Regions from separate parts of the Homo sapiens genome. Here all the other regions are linked to region 1. Evidence: promoter capture Hi-C in 16 types of primary human blood cells and fetal thymus (Javierre and others, 2016). All regions are on one chromosome and are shown on one strand. Each heading gives the region's core, a stretch centred on a gene start or on the middle of the fragment in contact. The rest is flanking DNA. Distances are from core to core; before and after follow the strand shown. Region 1 holds the start of PNKP (polynucleotide kinase 3'-phosphatase). Region 2 overlaps ZNF524 (zinc finger protein 524). Region 3 holds the start of KMT5C (lysine methyltransferase 5C). Region 4 holds the start of GSK3A (glycogen synthase kinase 3 alpha). Region 5 holds the start of ZNF784 (zinc finger protein 784).

Region 1 (5,112 bases), core at 1-2,500:
TTCACTGACGGCTTGCAATTCCTCCCCAAATCCCATCCCCAGGCCTTGCTGGCCCTTGCAGAGGCACTGATACCTGTTTCACTGCCACTGTCCGGGTCTCAGGATCTGCGACCAGCTCCACTGAGGATTGGAGGGGTGGAGTCAGGATTTGCATCCTTGTGTGATTGGGTCCCTCATTTCTGGGGAGTGTGGCCTGCTTCAGGCTATAGCATCCAGGGAGTAAGAGGCAGTTTATTTCTACATGGGATTGGCTCCTTGACATGCAGTAGCCAGATAGTGGCACTAGGATTGCCTGACACTGGTCCTTGCAAGGGACAGGGAGGTACTTTTCTCTACAGAATTGGTTTCCTCCTTGACAAAAAATGTGGCTAGATATAGGTCCGGGGCTTGGCCTGTTACCATCCATCCCAACCTAGCGACATTTACTTTTCTCCACAGGATCATTTTTCTCTTGACGAAGGTCGTCGCCTGTTTCTGGATTTCCCGATGGCCTGAGCATCATCCGCGCAGTGAACATCCTCCCTAAATCGGCTCGATCCCCTCTCCCCCAAAGGATCTAGCTAATTCTAAATCAAGCACAAACTTTATCTTCCTGTACTCCCTAGAGAGCACCTTCCGACTTCGGGGCTGGCTGCACCACTGCAATCCCGCGTAGCAGCCAAGCGTCCCTCTGGATTGTTCCCGCTTTTGCAGCAGGCCACACCCCCTCCAGCTCAGGCCCCGCTCACCTTGAGTTCTGGAGCACTTCCGGTCCGTAACCTGGGTCAGGGGTCCCCTGCCCAGGACCAGGGCTTGCCCGTCCGAGGGCAGGAAGATGGGGGGCGCTCCCCCAGGGGGGCTCTCGAGCCACAAGCGGCCCGGGGCCTCCACCTCGCCCATCCTGGGTGCCGGCCTGGGGAGCAGGTAAACGGGCTTGAGCGGCGCACAGCCCCAATTTGCTGCAGGAAGTCCCGCCTCCTCCCACATCCACTAGAAAGTTTCCCCACCATTAACTGCTCCGGAAGTCCCACCCGCTCGCCTTCCGCGGGTCGACCCGTTTCCCAGGCGACGACGCGTGCTCCATCCCTCCCCGAGTTGCAATCCCCACTTTCCAGCGTACAGGCAGAGAGCCTCGCACATGCCTCCGCCCCGCCCCGTACTCACCCGGGACCGCGGCTTGGGCTCACGGCCACTTCCGACCAGGGAGGTCCTGCCCGAGGTGCCCCGCCTGCAACCCGGCCGGCGGCGGTCGGTTCCTCGGCGGACGGAAATGACTCGTCCCCTCGTGGGTGGGGGGCGGGGCCTGGCCTCCTCCCACAGCAGCCACGCCCCTTCCCCGACTCCCGGCCCCCAGGGTCTCTCGGCAGCCCTGACCTTCATCTCTCTTGCTGCAACGCGAGGCTCAGGCCGGTAGCGGGGACTGGATCCTCCGTTAGCAGATTTGCCTCTTTCCACCTTGACTTCTAATTTTCATCCCAGGGAGGAAGATTTTTTTCCCATCTGATGGTCATTGTCAGTCGAGGAAACCTCCGCCCCCGACAGCGCCCCTAAGTCCTTCTTTGGCTTCACCCTCGATGTTCTAGTTTCCTCATCTATAAAAAGGATAATCGTTTCCGCTTCGTGGGGTTACCATGACGATTAAAGGAGCTAACACGTGACAAAAGCTTTAAAAAATGGGTGGTAGTGAGCCCTGTTTAAGTCTTTTTTTTTTTTTTTTTTTGAGACGGAGTCTCACTCTGTCGCCCAGGCTGGAGTGCAGTGGCGCGATCTCGGCTCACCTGCAAGCTCCGCCTCCCGGGTTGACGCCATTCTCCTGTCTCAGCCTCCCGAGTAGCTGGGACTACAGGCGCCCGCCACCACGCCCAGCTAATTTTTTGTATTTTGAGTAGAGACGGGGTTTCACCGTGTTAGCCAGGACGGTCTCGATCTCCTGATCTCGTGATCCGCCCACCTCGGCCTCCCAAAGTGCTCAGATCCGTTTAAGTCTTATTTAGTGTTAGCATTCTTTCGGTAGTGGTCTGGTGGGACTACGTTTACCTAGTCCTAATTTCGGACGAGGTTCCACCTGCTTTCTAACCTCCAGCCATTTTTTTTTCCCTTTGGAGAAGGGGTCTCACTGTGCTGCCCAGGCTGATCTCGACCTCCTGGTGTCATGTGATCCTCCCGCCTTGGCCTCCCAGCGTGTTGGGCTTATAGGCGTGAGGCACCAAGCCCAGTTGCTCCAGTCCTTTTATAATAGAAGACTCCCGGCTGGAGTTCCTGGCTTTGCTGGTGAATATGTGGGCTCTGTCTCCAACACTCACCTCCTCAAGATTGGGTTCCATGGTCACATAAGACTGGGATGCTCTCCTCCACCCCATGAACCTGTGTCTTCATATCTATAAAATGGGCACAAAGCCAGGCGCCGTGGCTCACGCCTGTAATCCCAGCACTTTGGGAGGCCAAGGCGGGTGGATCATTTGAGGTCAGGAGTTCAAGACCATCCTGACCAACATGATGAAACCCTGTTTCTACTGAAAATACAAAAATTACCCGGGCGGCAGTGGCGCGTAATCCCAGCTACTCGGGAGGTTGAGGCAGGAGAATCGCTTGAACCTGGGCGAGAGTGGGACCCTGTCTCAAAAAAGTAAATAAAATGGGCACAGTAATTCCAACCCCCAGCTATTCACTGATAATCAGACGCTGCCATTCGGTTTCAGAAAATGTTGAATGAACACTCACAACACACTTCACATTTATCTCAGAGGTAAAACTCTTTAATCTCAGAGCGCCCCTCCCAACTGCCGATCCCCCAACCCCTCACTCTCTCCCCCACACCAGGGCCGGAGAGTGAGGGCCCCTGCCCCCCACCTTGGGTGGACGAGGGCCCTTTAAGGCACCTGTGGAGGTGGGGGGCGAGGGGCGGGAGCTGGTACCATCCTGGATGCAGGGACGGGCTTCGATTGGCAGGCTGTTGTGGGGATGGATGGAACCAATGAAAGGGGGTGCCAGAGGCAGGGACAGTTTGGGGCCATCCCTGAGGGGGTCAGGGAACAAGTTGTCGGGACGTGGGCAAAGACGACCCCAGTCCCCGTAGTGTAAAGAACGTAAATTGAAGGCCCCGGGCCAATTCTGGGAAGAGGAGGGCTTGGCCACGCCCCCAGGAAGCTGGAGCCAATTGGGAGGGAGAACTCAGGAAAAGCGGACGGTGACTATGTAGAGACTGGTCAAGCCCTTTACAGGATTTGAGCCAATCAAAAAAAGAGCTGTCCAGCGACTAGGGGATGGAGCCAATGCCGTGCGAGCAAATCCCTTGTCGCTAGGCGGAAAACAAAGGAGTTGACCCATTTAGAGCTTAGAACTCAGCGAGCCAATCCCTTAATAGAAGGAATCTGTCGCTAGGCGGAGAGAGACGACAGACCCAATCGGGAAACGGGACAGATGCCGCTCCTCGGCGCGGCAGGTCGTGGGCTGGAAGGACGGCGGGGATTGGCAGAGGCGGGACAATCTTGGGAATGGGAGACGCAAGGAGGCCGGTCCCGGATCGGCCTCAGATTAGCAGGCCCCGGGAGTGGGGCGGGGGCGTAGTGTGGGACGGGGCGGACGCGGCCCGGGGCGCTCCCTCCCTGGACTTCAATATTTCCGCTTCAGCTTCTGGAAGTCGCTGGTGTTAAGCCGCGGCCGTGGCAGGTCCCCGAAGACCTGGGTGTCCTCGGCCTCTCGCAGCACCAGCGCGCGCATGCTCGCCGCGATGCGGTCCAGGTCGGGCGAAGAGGGCTGCGGGGACGGCGACGGGGCGAGGTCAGCGCCGGCAGGGCAATCCCCCTGCACCCACACGCGGTCCAGGGGTGCACCCGGGCTCCAAGCCCACTTCTAGCACGTCCCTGCCCTGCCACCTGTGCCCTGCGATGCCCACTGCCAGCAGTGCCCCTCCCCGTCTTGCTCCACGTAGGAACCCTTCTACCCGGTTCAGACACCTCCTCCACGAAGCCTACCTGCCCCTCTCCCTCTCCCCTTCTTGGCCTAGGACATTGCTTCCTACACAGTGGAAGTGCTGTTGCCTGCTAGCCATTAAGGCTGAGTGCACCGTCTCATGTCTGAGGATCTGGGCTGGGGTTTCAGTCATGTTCCAATCAGACCTCTGCCGCTGACAAACTATGAGCAAGAGGTTTTGCTTCCCTAGGCCTCAGTCTCCCCTTCTGAAAAATGGGGCGGATAACAGGGTCTCTGTGAGGGCTGAGATAATCAGCTGTTACTGCCTTATCATGTGGCCACTGCGCTACAGAAAAGATCCCTCGCTGTGTCAGCCCCCGCCAAGGAGCCTGCAGTTCTGGCACCTAGTACTGCCTCCACTACAGCCCCCGTCACCCGGAGCTGGGCCTGTCCCCTCGCAGGATGGGACCCGGAGACCCAGATCAGGAACTGGACCTGAGCCCAGTGGGAGACCAGCCCCCGGGCACAGCACGCAAGAGGCCAGAGCATTCAATTAACTGTGTTGCCATGAGTCGCAAGCACAGAGAGCAGCAGCAGGTGGACCCCGCCCGCACCAGGCCCTGTTCCTGGTCTTCAGTGCTCACTGCTTCATTGAGGGAGGATGCACAGAAAAGGTCACCACTGTGACTGCTGGTTTGCATATAAGGACACTGAGGCTTGAGGGGGGGACTGTGGGGACCCAGGCCTCCTCCCTCAAAGCCCACAGCTCCTTCCTGAAACACACCTGGGTTCCAGTCCCAGCTCTGCCTCTCAGGGAAGTCACATGTCCCCTCAGTGCCTCAGTTTCCCCTCTGCTTCAGGGAGGCTCAGTGAAGGGTGAGGAGGACCCACCTAGGCCAGCAGAGCCCAGCCCAGGAGCTTCAAACAGGGGTTGCTACAAGGGGTGAACAGGGGACCAGGGGGTGGGACAAATTCTGCAAAGGGCTAGGAATGTGCAGGGTGGGGATGGGAGGTGATCTGAACCCTCCAAGCCTCAGTTTCTCCACTGGAGGGCATGCCAAAACACCTGTGCCTTGCCCAGAGCAGGTGTTCTATAAATAGAGACGCTCCTGGAAAGGAGAGGCCTTCTCTATAAGGCACTAGGACACATGGTAAGGCTGCAATTGTTAAAACTGCAAGGCTCGTGTCCAAGAACTCGCCTCTTGAGGTTGAGGGGAGGAT
Region 2 (5,250 bases), core at 733-3,232, 5.7 Mb after region 1:
TCAAACCCAGGACTGAGCCCTCGTAATGTCCCCTTTCCTCCTTGGGTTTATTTGTTCTCCATTCTCTGGGACATTCGGGTCACAAGACCTGTTTCCAGTTTTGGCCCTGCCATTTACTGGCAGAGGAACTTAGGCAACTGACTTGGCTTTCCTGTGCCTCAGTTTCCCCATCTGCAAAATGGGACAGATATGCCCTATTCAGAGGGTTGATGTGAGGCTTAGCTGCTCCTGATAACAATGGCTAATGTGTCCTGAAAGCTTCTGTGTATGAACACTTTGTGGGTATTATGCTCATGGCATGTCTGGGCAAGTACGTAGAACTATGTGTCCCATTTTGCAAAAGTCTTGATTAAGGCTTAGAGAAGCGAACACCTTGCCCAAGGCCACGCAGAGAGTAAAGATTTGAACGAATGATGTCTTGACTCCAGGGCCCAGGCTCTTAACATCGCAGATATGTTTCCTCATCCAGGAATCAGGGTCAAATATCACCTGGGACCAGTCCCTTTTTTCCACTCTGGAACCCCTTCCCCACTTCTGCCAGTCAGCAGGGAGGGATGAGAGCATTCGTGAGGCCTCTATGGCTCTGGAGTTTGATGGGCTCTCCGTTTCAAGGATCACAATACTGGTCTGCACTCTCAGTTGGACTCTATCCTCTCTGGAAGGTTTTTTTTTGTGGGGAGGTGGGGAGGGGTGTTGCTCATGTTGATCTTGAACTTCTAGATCCAGAAGGAGAGTTAGGGAGGCATAGGGATGTCTGGTGGAGCTCAGGGAAGTGCCTGTTTATCAGCTGATACAAGATCATCTCACTGTTTTACCCACCAGCATAGCTAAAATTGTGTATCTGGATGAATGTCAAACACACCTTTGTCAAGAGACTTGGAGAGAGGGATGGGCGAGGTGTTGGGGGACACAGGGGTGCTCTAGACCCTGTGAGCACTGACTCTGCCCCTCTCTCCTCTTAGCTGGCTCCAGTGCCCAGACCCAAGCCCCCCACTGCTCAATGGACACCCCCAGCCCAGACCCGTTGCCTTCGCCTTTGCCCGGGGAGGAAGAGAAACCTCTGGCCTTATCTCCTCCTGTTCCCCGGGGCCGCCGAGGCCGTCGTCCTGGGGGAGCCACCTCCTCAAATCGGACACTCAAGGCCTCCCTCCCTCGCAAGCGGGGCCGCCCCCCCAAGTCAGGGCAGGAGCCCCCACTGGTGCAGGTGCAGGGGGTGACAGCCCCAGTAGGCAGCAGTGGCGGGAGCGACCTCCTCCTGATCGATGATCAGGGTGTGCCCTATACGGTCTCTGAAGGTTCAGCGGCTGGGCCTGAGGGCTCTGGCCCCAGGAAGGCCCCACACTTCTGCCCGGTGTGCCTGCGGGCCTTCCCCTACCTCTCCGACCTGGAGCGCCACAGCATCTCGCACTCAGAGCTGAAGCCGCACCAGTGCAAGGTTTGCGGCAAGACCTTCAAGCGCTCCAGCCACCTGCGGCGGCACTGCAACATCCATGCCGGCCTGCGGCCCTTCCGCTGCCCGCTGTGCCCCCGCCGCTTCCGCGAGGCGGGCGAGCTGGCGCACCACCACCGCGTGCACTCGGGGGAGCGCCCGTACCAGTGCCCCATCTGCCGGCTGCGCTTTACAGAGGCCAACACGCTCCGGCGCCATGCGAAGCGCAAGCACCCGGAGGCCATGGGGGTACCCCTGTGTGCACCAGATCCAGGGTCTGAACCGCCGTGGGACGAGGAGGGCATCCCGGCCACAGCAGGGGCCGAGGAGGAGGAGGAGACAGAGGGGAAAGGGGAGCCGGCCTGACCCACACCCCCGGCCATCGCTCCCTGGGCCAGGTTTAGAGCAGGGAGTTTGGCTGGTGCTGGGCCTGAGCCAGGGGGCCGGGACACCCTTGTTTCCGGTGGTCTTCCCGTTGTGGGAGCAGGTGGAGGGTGGAGACCTAAACTTTGGGGTCCAGCTGCCTTCAGCCCCCCTCCCCCAGACTAACAGACCCTTGGAGGCAGGGGCTGTGGAAATAAATCTCTGCCTGCTGGCTGCCTGTGTGTGTTCCGTGCCGGGATGCCATCCTCTCCTGCCTTCAAATGTTCTTCCTCGGCTACACCGTCCTGTCGGGAGTGCGGGGAATTGGAGAGGACCCCACTTCCTGTGCCTCATGAGCGTGGTGCTCGCCAAAGAATGGTTTTGGGGGGAACCTTGGCCCCTTCCCCATCTCCATCAGACCCCAAAGTCCATGGGTCCCTCGGAGTCCGCGGGGAATTGGTTCCACGAACCTCGCAGATACCAAGATCTGGGCATACACAAGTCCAGCAGTGGGCCCTGCGGAACCCGCGGATGTAGGAAAATCCGCCCTTCGTATACTGTATGTTCCACCGGTGTTTGGGTGAAAAAACGTCCGCCTCTCAATGGACCTGCAGTTCAAACCCCTGTTGTTCAAGGGTCAGCTGTATTCCCAGTACACATCCAATCTAACTAAAAACATTGAACCTTCCATGCAGACCTGACTGTAGGTCCGACCGCCTCTCTCCTAGCCAATTCCCAGAAATTCTGCAGCCACTTTGCCCCACCTCCTTGTCCTGAGGACCTACTGTTTGGAAGGAAAAATTAAGACAAAGGTATGAGCAGGACGGTCTGGGTAAGGTTTAGAGATAAGGGGTGTGGATTGGGGCGGGGCTAAGGAGCGAGGGGTGGGGCTGAGATTGCGGGGCAGTTAGGCTGGGACCTGGGGCGGGGGCTTAGAAGAGGGTTAGAGTTGGGTGGGGCTTAAAGAGGTTTAGGGGTTGGTCCGCAGAAAGTGAGAGCGGTTTAAAGAGGATGGATAGAGTTGATCTAATAGAGAGTAGGGGCTTGGAGCTGGGGAAGAACAGGAGGAACTGCGTGAGAGTGGGGCAAGGAGGACGGATAATTTTTTTTTTGAGACAGGGTCTCGCTCTGTCATCCAGGCTGGAGTGCAGTGGCCCTATCACCGCTCACTGCAGCCTCGACCTGCCAGGCTCAAGCGACCCTCCTGCTTCAGCCTCCGGAGTAGCTGAGACTACAGACGGGCGCCAGCATATTTAGCTAATTTTTTTTTTTTGAGACGGAGTCTTGCTGTCGTCCAGGCTGGAGTGCAGTGGGGCAATCTGGCTCACTGCAACCTCTGCCTCCCGGGTTCAAGCAGTTCTCTCCCTCAGCCTCCCGAGTAGCTGGAATTACAGGCGCCCGCCACCACGCCTGGCTAATTTTTGTAATTTTAGTAGAGACGGGGTTTCACCATCTTGGCCAGGCTGGTCTTGACCTCCTGACCTCGTGATCCACCCGCCTCGGCCTCCCAAAGTGCTGGGATTACAGGCGTGAGCCACCGCGTCCAGCCTAATTTTTGTATTTTTTTTTTTTGTAGAGACGGGGTTTTGCCATATTGCCCAGGCTGGTCTTGAACTCCTGTGCTCAAGCAATCCGCCTGCCTTGGCCTCCCAAAGTGCTGGGATTACAGGCGTGAGCCACCACGCCAGGCCAAGAGAACGGATTTTAAGGTGAGGGGCGGAGCTTATAATAATTCAGCTCTGAGGTGGGCGTGGTTCAGGGCCGAGGGCCGGGGGCCGGGGCTTAAAGGAGAAACTCTGAGGGAACAGGGTATTGGAGGTGGGACTTAGAAGGTGCTGATGGGGGCGCACGACTGCTATGGAGGCGATGGGGAGAGAAGGAAGTACTTAATCTAAGGGAAGTTCCTGGGAGAGTGGAAGCTTAGCAGGAGGGGCTGAATGGGTCTGGGTTTGGCTGTTTGGGATGGGGCTGAGTTGGGAGCCGGGATTATAGCGATTATATGAGCGGGCAGTGTCAAGTGTGGTAAATCCATGGCTCTTGACCAGCATGCAGCAGAATCAGAGTATTTCAAAACACGGATCCCTAGACCCCCAACCCCAGGGCTTCTATTCCGCATGGTCTGAGCAGGCAGCCGGATGCTGCTGGCCTCCCAACTATCCTTGACAACCACCGATTTAAAAGAATGCTTTAGAGGTGGGAGGCACTCAAAAGTCACGAGGTGCAACTTAAATGCTATGGGGTGAAGGGGCGGGGCTTGGATGGAGGGGGCGGGGCCTAGGGAGGGGTGAAGTTCCAGAGAGTGGGAGCTTGGAGAGGGGGAAGAACAGGAGAAACTGCATGAGGGCGAGGGGACGAAGACAGACTTTGAGGCAGTAGGGGGCTTATAATCACGCTGTGAGATGGGCGTGGTTCAGGGCCAGGGGGCGGGGCTTCAGTGTGAGACCCGAGCCGGAGGTGTGGCTTAACCGGACGCCCAGAGCGTGTCGCGGGGTTCCCGTAGAAGAGGCGGGCATTCAAAGCGCAGGCGCACCTGGCTCAGTTCGCCCACCGGAATCGGCCCGGGCTTTCACTGCTCGCGTCCCCGAGTCAGTGCGCAAGCGCATTTCCCCCCTCCTGGTCCCCGCCACCGCCTCCTCTTTCCGATCCTCCACGCCGGCGCCTCGGGAACGGGCGCGACTTCCGCTTCCGGGCGGGCGGGCAGGCGGGCGGTGCGGGGCTGCCGGGGAGGGGGGAGGGGGCGGCACTTCCGGTCGGGCCCTCGGGTCTCCCCGGAGCGGCGGCGCCTCCTCCGCCTCCTCGGCCTCCTCCCGGCGGAGACCCCGGCGCCGGTGAGTGACGGGGTGCGTGGCCCGGGGGCCCGGGTGCAGCGGGGGCGGGGGGCCCCGCCCTGGCCCGCTGTGGTCCCCAGAACGTCCCCCAACCCCTAGCAAGTCAGTGCAGCTCCCGCCGGGCCCTTGCCAAGGGACCCCCAATCACTGCTCCCCGGTAGGATCACTGCAGATAGCTCCCCCATGAACGCCCCCAGCTAGGATGGCTGCCAAAGCGCTTTCATTCGTGGCGATCCCCTAAACGGCTGCCAGGGCCCCCAAATGATACCTCCTCGTAGGATCCCCTCCACATAGCGCTCCCCGTCATTGCTTCCTCCAGGTCAGCCTCCAGATGCCATCAGCATTGCCCCTCCCCATGTAGGGCAGCTGCTCGTGAACCCTCTTATTAGTATCCTCTATATAATTCTCCCCAGAGTGTTTCCTTAGTGCCTTGCAGCAGAACTGTCCCCCGTTATCTCTGTCCATACAGCAACAGCCCCCAATGGCCCTGACCACCTCCCTCCCCAGCAGAACGCCCCTTCGTGGGTGTGAAAATACTTTCTATTCTGGTCAGCACCAAGAATGCCTTTTTCCCTTCTGCAGGTCCTCCAGTGATTCCCCTTAAGAATGCCCCTTTCAAAGCCACCCCCC
Region 3 (4,981 bases), core at 735-3,234, 5.5 Mb after region 1:
CCGAGCATGGTGGCATGCGTCTGTGGTCCCAGCTACTCAGGAGGCTGAGGCTGTAGGATCGCTTGAACCCAGGAGGTCGAGGCTGCAGTGAGCCATCCTTGCACCACTGCACTCCAGCCTGGGCAACAGAGGAAGACCCTGTCTCAAAACACAATACAGGCCAGGCATGGTGGCTCATGCCTGTAATCCCAGCACTTTGGGAGGCTGAGGTGGGTGGATCACCTGAGGTCAGGAGTTCGAGACCAGCCTGACCAACATGGTGAAACCCCGTATCTACTAAAAAAAAAAAAAAAAAAAAAAATTAGCCGGGCATGGTAGTGCATGCCTGTAATCCCAACTATTTGGGAGGCTGAAGCAGGAAAATCGCTTGAACCTGGGCGGCGGAGGTTGCAGTGAGCCGACATCGCACCATTCCACTCCAGCCTGGGCAACAAGAGGGAACTCTGTCTAAAAAAAAATTAGCCAGGGGTGGTAGTGCATGCCTGTAATCCCAGCTACTTGGGAGGCTGAGGCAGGAGAATCGTTTGAACCTGGGAAGCAGAGGCTGCAGTGAGCCGAGATCACTCCACTGCACTCTAGCCTGGGCGAGAGAGCGATACTCTGTCTCTGTCTCTCTCTCTCTCTCTCTCTCTCTCTCTCTCTCTCTCTCTCTCTCTCTCTCACACACACACACACACACACACACACACACACCAAAACACCAAAAACAGCACACCAAAACAGCACCTACTCTGTGGCATGCATTGTTTTAAGTGCCCACGATCTATAGCTGTACAGTGGAGCGCATGTCTGACAGTGATCCTATATGTGTAGACACACAAGCGCCTACATTGTGTTACCGGACAGTAACATGCTGCACAGCTGTGTGGCCCAGGAGCCGCCGGCCACCTTACAGCCCAGGTGCCAGCAGCCCTGCCACGTAGGTGTGAGTGATGTTGCTCTAGGATGCTGGCAGGATGACGACATCGCCTGAGCACGCACTGCCCAGATGGTATCAGTGTCGTTAAGGGAAGAATGGCTGTGGCGAAACAAACAAACAAGCAAACAAAGACCGCCTGTTCTGAGTGTGGAGCTTATTATTCTCGGCGTAATTATGATGAATTGTTAGTTACGTTTGCCTCTAGGATTGAGGTAGGGGGGGTGATCCCAATTAGGGGGTGCCCCAGGGGAGCGCCCCAGGAGTCAGGGCTTGTCTCAAAAGTCCCCACTCCTCCCTCAGCCTCCCCTCCCTCCATCCGACCCCGTTCATATCGCGGGAAGGTCCCACAGAGTGCGTGTGGATACTCCCAAAACGCAACGGTGTAAACGGGGAGGGAGGGAGAGAGACTGAGGAGCCCTTTGTAGCCAGGCAGAGCTGTCAATAAAGTTTCGTCGCCTTGGTAACCGCAGGCCTCGCGGGGCGGGAGGGGAGAGGGATGGCGGTGCGCGCGCATTCACCGCCTCCCTCCCGCCGGGTCTGGCTTTCTCCCTCCTGTGGCCGAAGCTTTCCTCGGAGAAATAGAAGAGGGAGGCCGCGACTCTATGGTGATGGACGGAGGCCTTACCCAATGGAAAGAGGAGCTGTCCCAAGGCCAGGCAATCATATACGACTACTGGAGCTGGCAGAGCCCGCCCTCTTTCCACTTGGACCTGAATAACCCGACCCAAACCGAGTTTCGCCCGGAGAGACTGCGCTTTCGGCCAATGAGTGCGTCGATTTCGAGCCCCAGTGTGAGCGAAGGCGGGACAAGTCTCCATGGCAGCGACTAAAGGACAGCGATGTGAACCACTGACAACAGTTCGCGGCGTTTGACGGCGGCGGGGGCGTGGCGGGGTTTTATCTGTGTATTGACGAGAGCCGGGCGCGGAGGGAAAGAGTGGGGCTTGGCCAATGGGAGCGCCGTGAGCTTCGTAGCAACGGAGGAGTGGCGGTGGCTGTGGCCAATAGAAAGCCTCAGTGGCCTTGGCGGGGCTGGCCCGGAGAGCAGATGGGAGGTGCGGCGACAGTGTTTGACGAGAGCCGAAGGAGGCTGTGGGAGGTGTTGGCGGCGGCGGCGCGGGCGCCTGAGGAGGAGGAGGAGAAGCGGGTGAGGGGCGGCGCGGGGCCCGATCTCTGAGCCCCTTCACGGCCCCAGCCCCGCGCCGCCTTGGCTCCCCAGTCGCCCCCTGCCCCGACTGCCCCCCACCCCGCCCGGCCCCTCCTCGTGTCCAGGCGCCCACGTCTCCCGGCCCCTCGCCGGGCCTCGGGCTCCGCGGCACTGCAGCCTCCTTCCTGTGCTTCCTCACCCGGGCCCTGACCCCCTTCTTACGTCCACGGCCCTCCCTGCATCCTCAGGGCCTCTCCCTGACCTCTTGTCACTCTCCAGGCCTCTCCCTGCACCCCCCAGGGCCTTTCCCTGACCTCACCCTCCAGGCCTCTCCCTGCACCCCCAGGTCTCTCCCTGCACCCTCAGGGCCTCTCCCTGACCCTTCTCTCACCCCCGGGACCTCCCTGCACTCCCAGGGCCAATCCCCGACCTCCTCTCACCCTCCAGGCCTCCTTCTGGACCCTCTAGGTCTTTCTGTGCCCTAGAACCTCTCCCTGACCCCTCTGTCCCTCTCCTGGCACTCCCTGGACCCTGAGGTCGGCCTCTGACCCTCCAGGTCCCTTGCCCTGGGCTCTCACCGCCTACCCAGGCGCCTCCCTGGGTCCCCAGGCCCTTCCCTAGGGTCTCCCTTTCCTGGATCCCCCAGGACCCCACCAAGCCCGTTTGGATCCCTGGGCCCCTGTCCGCCCTCTCAGGCCCTTCACTCACTGGACACCCAGGATCTTCTCCGCCATCCCTGGACCGCCCCCCGACCCAGGTCTCCCGTCTGGCTCCTCCCTGAGTCCCTAGGCCATTCCCCGCTCTCTGTCCTCCCTGGCACCCCCATCCCTTCCTCACACCCCTCTGAGCGCCCCCAGGCCCGGCTGCAGCCTTCTCCCTCCCACAGCCCCCTGCCGTGCCCACCGCTGTGCGTTTCTCTCCTTGCCCCCAGCCCCCTCTCCAGCTTCCCCGCTGTCCCTGGCGTCCTCCTGCAGCGCCCCCTCTTTCTCTCCCGCAGCCTCGCAGTCTGTCCCCGACCCCTCCACAGCCGTCTCTGCAGCTCCCGCTCCTTGCCCTGCCCCATCTCCTCCTCTCCTGGGCGCGGATGAGCCTCGAGCGCCGTGGTGCGGGGACGAGGCTGGCCCTCCGTCCGGGTTAGGGGTTTGGGTGGTTTTCTTCATCTCTCCGTTCTCTCCTGGCTCCGCTTTAAAAAAATGTTTTTGTAAATATTGACCTGTGCTGCCTCCCCATAGTCTTCCTTTGCTCCCCTCCCCACCCCCGCTTTTGTCCTCTGAGCCCCCCTCCCCTGGAATCCTTGGAGAGGGAGCAGGTGCTGGGATCCCTCCCCTGCCCTCCCTCCCGTCACCCGCCTCCAGGCTGCCTGGGGCTTCACCCGGAGCCTCCTGACCACTCCCGAAGGCTGCCGGGGAGGCAGGGGGCGGAGACCGAGGCTGGGTCGAGGTGGGGGTGGAGGGCGGGACCTCGGGCTGGCGGGAAGCTTTGACTTTTCCTCCTTGAGGGCTAGAGGTGAAGCGGCTCCCCACGGTGCTAAGCCTTTAGGGTGATCCCGGCTGCCAATCAGTCAGCCTTCTCTGGGCCCAAAGAGATGTGTGTGTGTAGGGGGTCTCTGTACATATGGGCAGGGGCATCTGCGTGTGTCAGTCTGAGTGTGCATGGGTGTGCATGTGGGGGTTGTGTGTTTAGGGGGGATCTGTGTCTGCGCTGCGGAGCAAGAGCAAGAGCTAAGGCGATGGCTGACATGGCTCTGGGCTTTCCCTACTCTCAGAAGTACTTGTTGCATTCCATCTTCGCCAGCGGCCTGGTGAAGTCAGCACTGCTTTTCTCCCCATTTTGCAGATGAGATCGTGGGGCTCACCAGCGTCCCCCATGGCTTCTGAGTAGCGTGGGAGTGGAGTCAGCACCAAGCCAGGCTCCCCGCGCCTGCCTTGCCCTCACCTGCTCCTGCTCTCTGCCAGAGGCAGCATGGTCCGCAGGGCACCATGGGGCCCGACAGAGTGACAGCACGAGAACTGTGCGAGAACGACGACCTGGCCACCAGCCTCGTCCTGGACCCCTACCTCGGTTTCCGCACCCATAAGATGAACGTCAGGTGAGGTGGCCTGGGGGCGAGGGTGGGCCCGAGGGGTCAGGACCCCTCCCCTTGCACCGCTGCCGCCCCTCGGCCCTCTCCTTAGCCTGGTCCTCCCCTCAGCTCCAAGTGGGGGTTGGGGCCGGGGCCCGGGAAGGCCCTGGGACCCAGGCATGCCCTCTCCCCCAGCCCTGTGCCCCCCCTGCGGCGACAGCAGCACCTGCGCTCAGCGCTGGAAACTTTCCTGAGGCAGCGGGACCTGGAGGCTGCGTACCGGGCCCTGACGCTGGGAGGCTGGACGGCCCGCTACTTCCAGAGCCGGGGCCCGCGGCAGGAGGCTGCCCTCAAGACCCACGTGAGGGCGCCCTCCCCTCCCCCGCCCTCACCGCGTGTCCTCCCCGCTCACCGGGCCTGGTCCCGCCTGGCAGACGCTCTAGAGTCCCTCAGCGCAGCCCCTGGGGCCCCCTGACTTCCTAGCCCTTGGGACCATCTGAGGCAAGGCTCAGAGAATCCTAGGAGAGGAGAGTTGGGGGGGCCCTCTGAGATGTAGTCCAACCTCTTCATTTGACGGATGAGGAAACTGAGGCCCCGAGAGGGAACATGAGGCCCCCAAGACCACACAGTGAGTCAGTGGCATGGCAGGCCTAGAGTCCTGGAGAGAGAGGGCCAAAGATGCCCCTGCCCCGCCTCCTCACCCCCACCCTCACCCTCACCAGGTCTATCGCTACCTCCGTGCCTTCCTGCCGGAAAGTGGCTTTACCATCCTGCCCTGCACGCGCTACTCCATGGAGACCAACGGGGCCAAGATCGTGTCCACTCGTGCTTGGTAAGAGGGCAGGACTCCCTG
Region 4 (5,175 bases), core at 449-2,948, 7.6 Mb before region 1:
ATTCCCAATTCCCATTATTCAAATGGTGGCAAACCTTGGTGCCATTCTTAGAGGATAGTGACCCCTTTGAGTAACTGATGAACCAAATCCATTTTTTTGTTTTTTTTTTTGAGACACAGTTTCGCTCTCGTTGCCCAGCTGGAGTGCAGTGGCACGATCTCGACTCACTGCAACCTCCGCCTGCTGGGTTCAAGCGATTCTCCTGCCTCAGCCTCCCGAGAAGCTGGGATTACAGGCGCCCGCCACCACGCCCAGCTAATTTTTTATATTTTTAGTAGAGACAGGGTTCCACCAGTTGGCCAGGCTGGTCTCGAACTCCTGACCGCAGGTGATCCGCCCACCTCAGCCTCCCAAAGTGCTGGGATTACAGGCGTGAGCCACCGCGCCCGGCCACCAAATCCATTTTGAGGGGCCAGTGACAAGTTCTTTCAGAGGGAGATAACCCTACATCACTTTTTTTTTTCAGAGCCAATGACACCATACCTTAGAACAATTATTAAAAAAGTATAACCTTAGATCCATATTCTGTAGGAAACTGTGACCTACCCTGCTCCATTCCATTTTTGTTAAAGGAGACACACCAAGCCATGTATTTTAAAACATGGACTATGGACTTGGTTTGAAGGATATGCTGACTCCCAATGTCTTTATATCTAAAAGGCAGTAACTATTAATTCTCACCATTGGCAGTACAGCTCAACAAGATTTAGGGTGGGTAATGATGCCAGGTCTTGGTTTTAATAGGGAAGATGATCTGAGTACCAGGTTTGGAAAGCCTGGCCCTATTCTTTGGGGACAAAACACAGTAACCTCAAAGCCCTGCTTCTAAGTGATATTCGCTCCAAATCCCCATCTTCTGAAGGACAGGGAATGCAGATCCCTCTTTTTCGGGGTTGGTCTTATTCTTGTTCTCTTAGGAGACAATAACCCTAGATCCCCATTTGCAAGCGACTGTGACCTCTGATCCAATATTATAATGAATAGCAACATCAGATACCTGTTCTTAAGGCTCAAGGACCCAAGACCTCAATAATGGAAGAACAGAGACTTGTAACCCGTTTCTTTAAGTGTTAGTAATTCTGATCCACGAGTAATTCTGATCTCCAAGAGATGGTAACCCCAAGACTCCTTTTCCTGGGAGGAAGAGGGCTCGGATCCCCGGTATGGGGAGGCACAGTGACCTCGAGCTCCTATCTAAGCACATGAAAGAATCTGATGGATGTCTGAGGAGCTTTGGGAACCCTAATCACCACCCTACACGGGCGCCACTAGTACTCACGGCCCAGCTTCACCCCGGGCGGCGGGAAGCTAGTGCCTGCGCCGGGGCCTCCGCTGCCTCCTCCGCCGCTGCCGCCGGGTCCACCCCCGGAGCTCGAGGCCCCGACGCCCCCACCCATGGCCCCGACAGATGCCTTTCCGCCGCCGGTGCCGCCTGGGCCGGAGGCCGAGCCTCCGGGGCCGCCGCCGCCTCCTCCGCCTCCGCCGCCGGGCTCCGCGAACGAGCTAGTCCGCGCCCTGCCCGAGCCCCCAGGGCCGCCTCCCGAAGGCCCGCCGCCGCTCATGGCGCCGAGCACAGGCCCAGGCTGCGGGGCTCGGGCTGCCCGGGCTGCCCCAGCCGCCGCCGCTGCCGCCGCCTCCCCCGGGCCCTGGCCTCTTCCAGGCCGCGCCGCTCTGGCTTGGGCTCCGGCTCCGGCCCAGCGCCCGCCGCGGGGCACGCCGGGAGATGCAGTCCGGCTGTCGTCCGCGCCGCCGTCACCGCCCTCGGCCCGCACAGAGAGCCGCGTGGCACGCCGGGAAATGAAGTCCACAAAAGCCTCAGAGTAGACCGCGGGAATGATGGGCGGGAATGACGGGTCACGCTGTACGTCGGGAAATGGAGTCCAGGGTAATCTGTCAGCCGACTGTACGACGGGGAGCCCTGAAGCACTTTAGGAAGCAGAGAGCCTGATGCACGCTGGGAAACGGAGTCCACTCACTCAGTCTATTAGCTGTGTATGCCTCCCAGAGCTCGGTGCGCTCTGGGAAATTGAGTCGGCCCGCGTGAACCTGCGGGTCTCGGGCCGTGAGGCAAGCCGGGAAATGGAGTCGTCGCCACGCCCTCACCGCATTGCAGGTGTAAAGCGATTTTTAAAGCACGCCGGGAAATGGAGTCTCAGGTGGTTTTTAAGCCCCAGGTGGATACTGCAGTTCCGGAGATGGGCGAGGAAATGGAGTAGGTTTACGCGCTCCTCTTTCCAGGTACGCTGGGCCGCAGTCCCTGCCGGGAAGTGTAGTCAGCACCAAGGCCTCAGTGCAGTTGCCACAGCGAGCCCTGGTGTGTTCTGGGAAATGGAGTTCGACGTATCCTCCCCATTGACTGAGGGGGCGGGATCGCCCATGAGCTCCAAGCATGCTGGGGAATAGTCCAGACCTGACCCTCTGTGAGGCCAGTCTGCGGAGGCTTGCCGGGAAGCGAAGTCCAATGGCCACCATCAGGGGCGTGTGAACGAAAGGTTAGAGACTGCGGCAGTTCCCTGGAGAGACTTAAAAGTGTTTCAGCGCCTCCTTCCTCGCCCCCAGGTCCTTCTTTAAGAAAGAGCCGAGGTCGATCAAGGACTGCTGGAAAATGGATCCAAGCACCTTTAAGTTCCAGGTGACCATAGATCAGGAAAGAAAAAATGTCCCCTCTCTAACCGCAACTCTGCAAAGATTCGGGAAACAAAGTTCCCGGCGGTTTCTCAGAACACTAACTAGTCTTCGGATACAGTCTAGCTTTTCCTAGCAATGTGGTTCGCACCAGGAAGCTGAATGGAGCATTAAAAAGACGGAAATGTCATTTCTGGGCCTGGCGCTGTGGCTCAGGCTGGGCGCCAGTAGCTCACGCCTGTAATCCTAGCACTTTGGGAGGCCGAGGCTGGCGGATCATCCGAGGTCAGGAGTTCGAGACCAGCCTGGCCAACATAGCGAAACCCCCGTCTCTACTAAAAGTACAAAAATTAGCCGGGTGTGGTGGCGGGCGCCTGTAATACCAGCTACTCAGGAGGCTGAAGCAGGAGAATCGCTTGAACCCGGGAGGCATAGGTTGCAGTGAGCCGAGATCGCGCCACTGCACTCCAGTCTGGGCGAAAAGAGTGAGACTCCGTCTCAAAAAAAAAAAAATCCTGTCTTGAACCACCATTCAGTTTTCAGTTTTTGGTTTGTTTTGAGACAGGGTCTCGCTCTGCCGCCCAGGCTGGCGGGCAGTGGCGCAATCACAGGTCACTGCAGCCTCTAACTCCCAGGCTCAAGCAATCCCCCCACCTAAGCCTCCCATGTAGGTGGGACTACAGGCGTGCACCATCACGCCCAGCTAATTTGGTTTGGTTTGTTTTTTGGGGTGGTGGGGGGTAGCGGGGTGGGCTTCGCCATGTTGCCCAGGCTGGTCTCCAATTCCTGGGCTCAAGCGATTCTACCTCAGCCTCCAACGTGCTGGTATTTCAGGCTTGAGCCACGGCACCGGGCCTCCCACTCTTGTGTTTTGCATCCTCCGCTTCCTAAATTACAAGATCCCGGAAAGCCAAAAATAAGGAAGCCAGCTGCCTCAGGTTTTGTGTACTCAGTGAGTCGTCCTATTTATCGATTAATACCCGAAGGAGAGTAGCCCCCAAAAGGCGCTGGGAAACAGAGTTCCTGTGTCTGTATGTGTCTCTTCCTCCCCCGGAAATACTTAGAAGTAGAATGAAAGCGTTCTCAGCCCCTCCCGCATCCTGGAATGGTGGGAAATGGAGTCTCTGGACTTCACGTTAATCCGAGCTTGTGCTTATACTAACTGTCCTGTCCTTTCTGAAACCAGAAGAAAGTCCTGTCCACTCAGTTTGTTCCTGACTGCAATTCCCCGCGGACACAACTGCGGGGGTCGGTAGCGCCAAAGCCTGTTGAGACTACATTACCCAGAAGGCAAAGTGCGGAACACTTCCGCTCCCTTCACAAAGCAGGTGGCCGCACCACGCGCGGCTAGGCGCGGGCGTTTCTGGGAGTTGCAGTTTCCCAGCCAAATGGTACCTGCTGCCCTCTGATGGCAGCTCTGAGTCAAAAAGTAAAAATTTCAGTCGAGCCCCTTGGCCTAGGGATTCCAACGCGGGACCAAGACGGCTCAAAAGGGCGGCGACATGGGGCAGGATAGCGAGGGTTATTTAACCGCCAGAACCCGTGGGGCATGCGCCGCTGCGTGTGGGCAACCGCCACGAGGGGATTGGGGTCCGTGGGAGTTTGAAGGTGACGGTCTGCAATCTATCAGGATGTTTGTAGAGGATGAGAATGTTCATAGAGGGATGCTAGGAAGGGTTGTAAACGTCTGAGAGAGGCCTATGGGTGTCTAGAAGGGCTAAGAGGAGTCCGTGGAGTGGTGAAGGGGTCTTTGATGAGCTTAGTTGACAGGATAATTACTGGGGACCAGTGGAGAAGCCTGAGGGGACTTAGGCTGTCTGCTAAAAGTTCTATGGGTGGGTGGACGCGATGGCTTACACTTGCAATCCCAGCACTTTGTGAGGTCAAGGCCGTGGATCACTTGAGGTCAGTCAGAAGTTCGAGACCCGCCTGGCCAACATGGAGGAAACCCCATCTCTACTAAAAACACACAAAAAAATTAGCCGGGCGTGGTGGCCCACGCCTGTAATCCCAGCTACTCGGGAAGCTGAGGCACAAGAATCTCTTGAACCTGGGAGGCTGAGGTTGCAGTGGGCTGAGATTGCACCACTGCACTCCACCCTGGGCAACAGAGTGAGACTCTGTTTTGAAAAAAAAGAAAAAAAAAAAAGGTCTATGGGAGACAGAAATTACTGGTGACCAAGGGGATCTCTGAGCGACCTGAAGGGGTGAGGGATGGTTGAGAAGCATTGGGAAGGGGCTTTGAGAGTCTGTGGAGGTACTGGGGCTACACGTACAAAGCAGGGAGGTCTCTGATGAGATTAATTAATATGTGAAGTGCCTTGAGAGCATCTGTAAAGGGCTTTCTACTTGGAAGCAAGGATCTCAGAGGATATGGATGGGACCAAGGGTGTCTTCTTGCAGGAACATTTCAAGCCAGCTAGCTAATAGATTTAGGTGGGCGATTAAAGGTTAGAGTAGCCGCTGGAGTTTTCAAGGCCAAATGCCACCTGTGACATCCTACACAGCCAGAATCTGGGGCAACTTGTCTGGTAGGGCTGTGGTCTGACC
Region 5 (4,886 bases), core at 1,074-3,573, 5.8 Mb after region 1:
CCTCCGAGAGGTGCCCGGCTCCACCCCGTGCCGGTGCTGGTGCCGGAGCAGGGGCGCCAAGGCCTTGAAGGCGCGGGGGCAGAGCGCGCAGCGGTAGGGCCGCTCCCCCGTGTGCAAGCTGTAGTGCGCGCGCAGGCTGGCGGGGCCCGGGCAGCTGTGGCCGCACACGTGGCACCGGCTCGGGTCCCCACCCTGCCCGCCTCCCTCGGCCCCAGCCAAGTGGCCATGTTCGTGGAACAGCAGCTCGGAAACCAGCCGGAAGGCAGCAGGGCACAAGGCACAGTGGAAAGAACCTGGCTCCGGGGGCTCAGGGACCAGCGTGGTGTCCGTCACCTTCACCACCTGGATCTCGATGAGGTCACTCGGGGGTGTGCCAGGCCGGCAGTCATCAGGCACCAGGACCTGGGCAAGAGGAGAAGAAAGAGGAGCCTGTGGAACCTGCCTCAGGACCGCCCCAGCACGCCCCAATTATTAAAGCTTGGGCTCCTCTGTTATTTTCAGACAGGGCCTCACTCTGTTGCCCTGGCGCGATCGTGGCTCATTGCAACCTTGACCTCCTGGGCTCAAGCGATCCTCCCACTTCATCTCCCTGAGTAGCTGGGATTACAGGCATGCACCACCACATCCAGCTAGTTAAAAAAAAATTATTTCTGGCTGGGCACGGTGGCTCAGGCCTGTAATACCAGCACATTGGGAGGCTGAGGTAGGCAGATCACCTGAGGTCAGGAGTTCGAAACCAGCCTGGCCAACATGGCAAATACCGTTTCTACTAAAAATGCAAAAATTAGCCAGGTGTTGTGGCTGCTGCCTGTAATCCCAGCTACTCGGGAGACTAAGACACGAGAATCGCTTGAACCCAGGAGGTGGAGGTTGCAGTGAGATGTGATCATGCCACTGCCCTCCAGCTCAGGCGACAGAACAAGACTCCATCTTAGACAGCAAAACAAACAAAAATTATTATTATTATTTTTAATGTAGAGGGAGTCCCACTATGTTGCCCAGGCTGGTCTCCAACTACTGGGCTCAAGAGATCCTTCTGGCTCTGCCTCCTAAAGTGCTGGGATTGCAGGCGTGAGCCGCCGCGCCCGGCCCATCCTCCAGGATTCTGTTGTATCCTCATCAACATTTCCTCTCCTGTCCAAAATATATCATGGATCCCACCTTTTGTCCTCCACCCTAGTTAAAGCCCCATCACTTGGCGCCTCCAAAATTGAAAAACCCAAGGGCATCTCTGTTCCTATTTCTGCTGGCTTGTAACCCACCTCCCAGGAATAGCCTGAAGGTCTTTTGAAAATGTAAATCAGATCAAGTCATTTTTCGCACTCAAAACCCTCCAGTGGCTCCAAATGACTTATCCCAAATCGTCACTATAATATCTGTGGCGATGTAGCTCCACTTATCTCTCTGACCCCAGCTTAAACATAAGCCGGCACCCAGCTGACTTCTCTCGTCTAAATTTAGCTGCCCCACCCCTACTCTTGGCTCAATTTATAGAAATTGGCTCAATTTTTATTTCCTTTATAGAACATATCACAGTAACTCTCCTTTATTGTCTCTCTCCTCTCAAGAGACTGCAGGCTCCAAAAGAACACAACCCTTGTCTGTCTTGGTCACTTCTCTATTTACAGAGCCGAAGTAGGAGCTCAGTAAATGTTTGTTGAATGAATGAATGTCCTCAATTAGTCTAATTCTGAGTGGGGTAACGTGGAGGAAGTTCCAAAGTCACCTAGACCACCCACTTCTACCCCCAAATTCTCCCTTGGGCATTCGAGAAGCATCACTAAGACCCTTGAAGAATTATCCCCTACCCCGACATAGGTGCTCCAATCATAATCCCCCACGTTTTTCAGGGTCACCTTCCCAACCTTCTACCCTAGAATTAGCCCTAGAATTTATGAGGCCCCGCCCCTTACAAGGCTCCACCCAAATTATGCAAATTATCCCTGGTAAGCCCCCTTCCCTGGACCCAAACCCGTCCCACAAGACAACACCGTCCTCAGACTCCGCCCCCATCCAGGCCCCGCCCACCACCCATAGGTCCCTCCCCCACCCCGCCCACCATGACATAGTCTCCTCCCCTGCCCCGCCCCTCGCGAAACCACAAGAAGCCCCACCCCCAGGGCCATAGCACTAAATACCTCCCTCGCCCACCCCCTCATAGGCCACGCCCCGGACCCGCCCCCCACACTACGACCTCCTCCCACCTCGAGCCCCACGCCCAGGCCCCTTCCTTGCCCGCACCAGGTCCAGTGGCTCCTGGGATCGCGACTCCGGAGTCGGTGAGCTCCGACTCTGGGCCTCTGGGCGCGCAGCGGCCATCTTGTGCCCAAGCCCCGCCCCCAAGGCCAATGTTCGCTCTGAAAGGGGGTGGGGCTCGAACTGGCGTAAGAGCTACTGCGCAGGCGCAGTGCGGGGCTGCGAGGGGGCGTGGTGCAGCAGGGGGCGTGGCGGGGCGGGGCGTGGCGGCTGAGCCCGGGAGAATGTGAGTTGTTCCCTCTCTAATTACCTGTCTGTCCCTCCGAGGGTACGCTCTGTGTGGCGCTAGGATGCCTGTAACACCCTGGGAACAAATCCGAACGTTCCTTCTAAACCAACGCAGGCCGACTCGAGGCTCTGGCTGTCAGGGGAACCTCAGCAGAACTGAAGAAGCTTTGCTTTGTTTCCACGGTAAACGTTTTTGTGATTACCTCTGCACTGCTCATGACAACGTAATGACGCCAAGTTTATAAACGTCGGTGTAGGCCGGGTGCGGTGGCTCATGCCTGTATTCTCAGCTACTCGGGAGGCTGAGGTGGGAGGATCGCTTGAGGCCGGGAGGTCGAGGCTGCAGTGAGCCATGATCTCGCCACTGCATGCAGCCTGAGTGACAGAGACTCTGTCAAAAAAAAAAAAAAAAAAGGCAGTGTGGAGAAAAATATTCAGTAAACAGCAACACAGGTGGTCCTGGGAGGACGCAAAAACCCGCAAGCTGATGTTATGTTTGGGAGGAAAGAGCTCAAAAACGCGGGGTTTTCAGCAGCATCAAGGACGGGGCTCTTCTTAGCTGCCCCGTTTAGTCATTCTGGTGGTATCACCTTGGATAAGTCACTACACTTCTCTGGACCATTTCTCTTTCTTTTGTGTAGCACTGTAGAAGCATTGTGACAAACCACTGAGAAGAGACATGGAAGAGTTTGGAAACATCTTTAAATAGTTTTCTTGAAAGGGCAGGATAGGAGATACTTAAACATGATCCTAAGCATGATCATTTCATTCATAAATATATATGAAATTATATTTTGTGATATGTTGGTATAAAATAAAGATAAACACCACTTAGGCTGAATTATCTCCTCCTCCTCCTTTCTTCTTCTTTTATAGAGATGGGGATCTTGCTGTCTTGCCTTGCCCAGGCTGGTCTTGAACTCCTAGCCTTAAGCGATCCTTCTGCCTTGGTCTTCCAAAGCTATATTTCCCTTCTTTTCTTTTGATTTTAAAATAATTTTTTTTTTTTTGAGATGGAGTCTCACTCTGTCGCCCAGGCTGGAGTGCAGTGGCATGATCATGGCTCACTGCAACCTCTGCCTCCCGGGCTCAAGCGATTCTCCTGCCTCAGCCTCTTGAGTAGCTGGGATTACAGGTGCCCGCCACCATGCCCGGCTAATTTTTGTATTTTTAGTATATACAGGGTCTCACCATGTTGGCCAGGCTGGTCTCGAACTCCTGACCTCAGGTGATCCGCCCACCTCGGCCTCCCAAAGTGCTGGGATTACAGGTGTGAGCCACTGCGCCCGGCCTAAAATAAATTTTTAAATGTTGTGGGTCCCTAAGAGTATCATGGGCCCTAGGCACTGTATCTACTACTGTGTCTAATGCTTAAGTCAGCTCTTTCTGTCCAGGTTTCCTAATTTGCAAAATGAGGGTGATAATAAAACCTACTTTACACAGTTGCTATGATGATTAAAGAAGTCATTATATATAAAGTATTTTGGACAATGTATGGCACACAGCAGGTGCTATGAGTTAGCTATAATAATTACTACCATTTGGCACTCCCACTAGCAATAAATAGGGACCTTTGTTGCTTAACATTCCTATCAATATCTGATACTCAAACTTTAAAATGTTCGCTAATCTCTTGGGTGTGAAATAATTTCATTTCTTTTCTTTTTTTTGAGAAACAGCCCAGGCTGGAGTGCAGTGGCGTGATCTCAGCTCACTGCAACCTCCACCTCCTTGGTTCAAACAAATTTCCTGCCTCAGCTTCCCAAGTAGCTGGGACTACAGGTGTGACACGTCATTACGTTATCGCAAGTGGTGCAGAGGTAACCACAAAAACCTTTACTGTGGAAACAAAGCAAAGCCTCTTCAGTTCCGCTGAGGTCTTCCACTGACTGCTAGAGCCTCGAGTCGGCCTGCGTTGGTTTAGAAGGAACGTTCGGATTTGTTCCCAGGGTGTTACAGCCCAGCTGATTTTTGTATTTTTGTTTTGTTTTGTTTTTTGTTTTTAGTAGAGACAGGGTTTCACCATATGTTGGCCAGGCAGGTCTCAAACTCCTGACCTCAGCTGATCGGCCCGCCTCGGCCTCCCAAAGTGCTGGGATTACAGGCATGAGCCACTGCGCCTGGTCTATTTCTTATTGAGAAGCTCTTTATTAAAAGAGATCATTCATAGCACCCAGAACTCATCCTCCAGTTTCCCTTTTTTGAGAGCTGGAAGTATGTCATCTCTGTATCCCCTCTGTACATCCCTATAGAGAAGGCATGTATATGGCTCAGTGAGTGTTTGGTGAATGAATGAGTGAGAAATTGAATTCATGCAGATAGAAGAACTTTGTACCAGAGCTTAAGGCTATTGAGTATTTTTTCCCTTTTTTTTCCTCCCCACCCCCACTAAAGCTATTAAA

The links. The method cuts DNA at HindIII sites, captures the fragments that hold promoters and counts their contacts. A CHiCAGO score of 5 or more calls a contact.
Region 2: a fragment that was not itself captured here is called in contact with the fragment with the promoter of PNKP in region 1 in 1 of 17 cell types (naive CD8 T cells); the score reaches 5.9 in naive CD8 T cells.
Region 3: a contact is called between the fragment with the promoter of KMT5C here and the fragment with the promoter of PNKP in region 1, in 8 of 17 cell types (fetal thymus, total CD8 T cells, naive CD4 T cells and 5 more). The highest score is 16.0, in fetal thymus.
Region 4: a contact is called between the fragment with the promoter of GSK3A here and the fragment with the promoter of PNKP in region 1, in 1 of 17 cell types (non-activated CD4 T cells). The highest score is 7.8, in non-activated CD4 T cells.
Region 5: the fragment with the promoter of ZNF784 here is called in contact with the fragment with the promoter of PNKP in region 1 in 1 of 17 cell types (naive CD8 T cells); the score reaches 6.8 in naive CD8 T cells.

What each region holds. Positions count from the first base shown.
Region 1 is chr19:49,866,326-49,871,437 of GRCh38, forward strand. PNKP (polynucleotide kinase 3'-phosphatase) reads right to left here and starts at 1,251. Exons shown (of 17, transcript NM_007254.4): 1 at 1,144-1,251; 2 at 729-892; 3 at 74-120. The coding sequence starts at 879. AKT1S1 (AKT1 substrate 1) reads right to left here. Exons shown (of 5, transcript NM_001098633.4): 5 at 2,714-3,735. The coding sequence ends at 3,592. RefSeq lists enhancers at 1-706, 707-1,488, 3,687-4,334 and silencers at 648-1,017, 1,088-1,387, 3,462-3,771. The HindIII fragment of the contact is 3,228 bases long and covers 1-1,641 here.
Region 2 is chr19:55,601,113-55,606,362 of GRCh38, forward strand. It overlaps ZNF524 (zinc finger protein 524), which reads left to right. Exons shown (of 2, transcript NM_153219.4): 2 at 963-2,026. The coding sequence starts at 1,001. The coding sequence ends at 1,795. ZNF865 (zinc finger protein 865) reads left to right here and starts at 4,535. Exons shown (of 2, transcript NM_001195605.2): 1 at 4,535-4,620. RefSeq lists enhancers at 1,503-2,053, 3,157-3,708, 3,709-4,260 and a silencer at 4,304-4,803. The HindIII fragment of the contact is 3,453 bases long and covers 257-3,709 here.
Region 3 is chr19:55,337,892-55,342,872 of GRCh38, forward strand. It overlaps KMT5C (lysine methyltransferase 5C), which reads left to right and starts at 1,985. Exons shown (of 9, transcript NM_032701.4): 1 at 1,985-2,066; 2 at 3,903-4,155; 3 at 4,324-4,489; 4 at 4,851-4,960. The coding sequence starts at 4,046. RefSeq lists enhancers at 129-903, 904-1,677, 1,987-2,056 and silencers at 2,077-2,136, 3,382-3,561. The HindIII fragment of the contact is 2,060 bases long and covers 1,482-3,541 here.
Region 4 is chr19:42,240,904-42,246,078 of GRCh38, forward strand. It overlaps GSK3A (glycogen synthase kinase 3 alpha), which reads right to left and starts at 1,699. Exons shown (of 11, transcript NM_019884.3): 1 at 1,280-1,699. The coding sequence starts at 1,562. RefSeq lists silencers at 1,241-1,520, 1,551-1,760 and enhancers at 2,051-2,260, 2,190-2,984, 2,321-2,370, 2,985-3,778, 3,381-3,440. The HindIII fragment of the contact is 12,371 bases long and covers 1-5,175 here.
Region 5 is chr19:55,622,243-55,627,128 of GRCh38, forward strand. ZNF784 (zinc finger protein 784) reads right to left here and starts at 2,324. Exons shown (of 2, transcript NM_203374.2): 1 at 2,242-2,324; 2 at 1-402. The coding sequence starts at 2,319. RefSeq lists enhancers at 2,305-2,804, 2,555-2,704 and silencers at 2,305-2,354, 2,425-2,484. The HindIII fragment of the contact is 2,172 bases long and covers 476-2,647 here.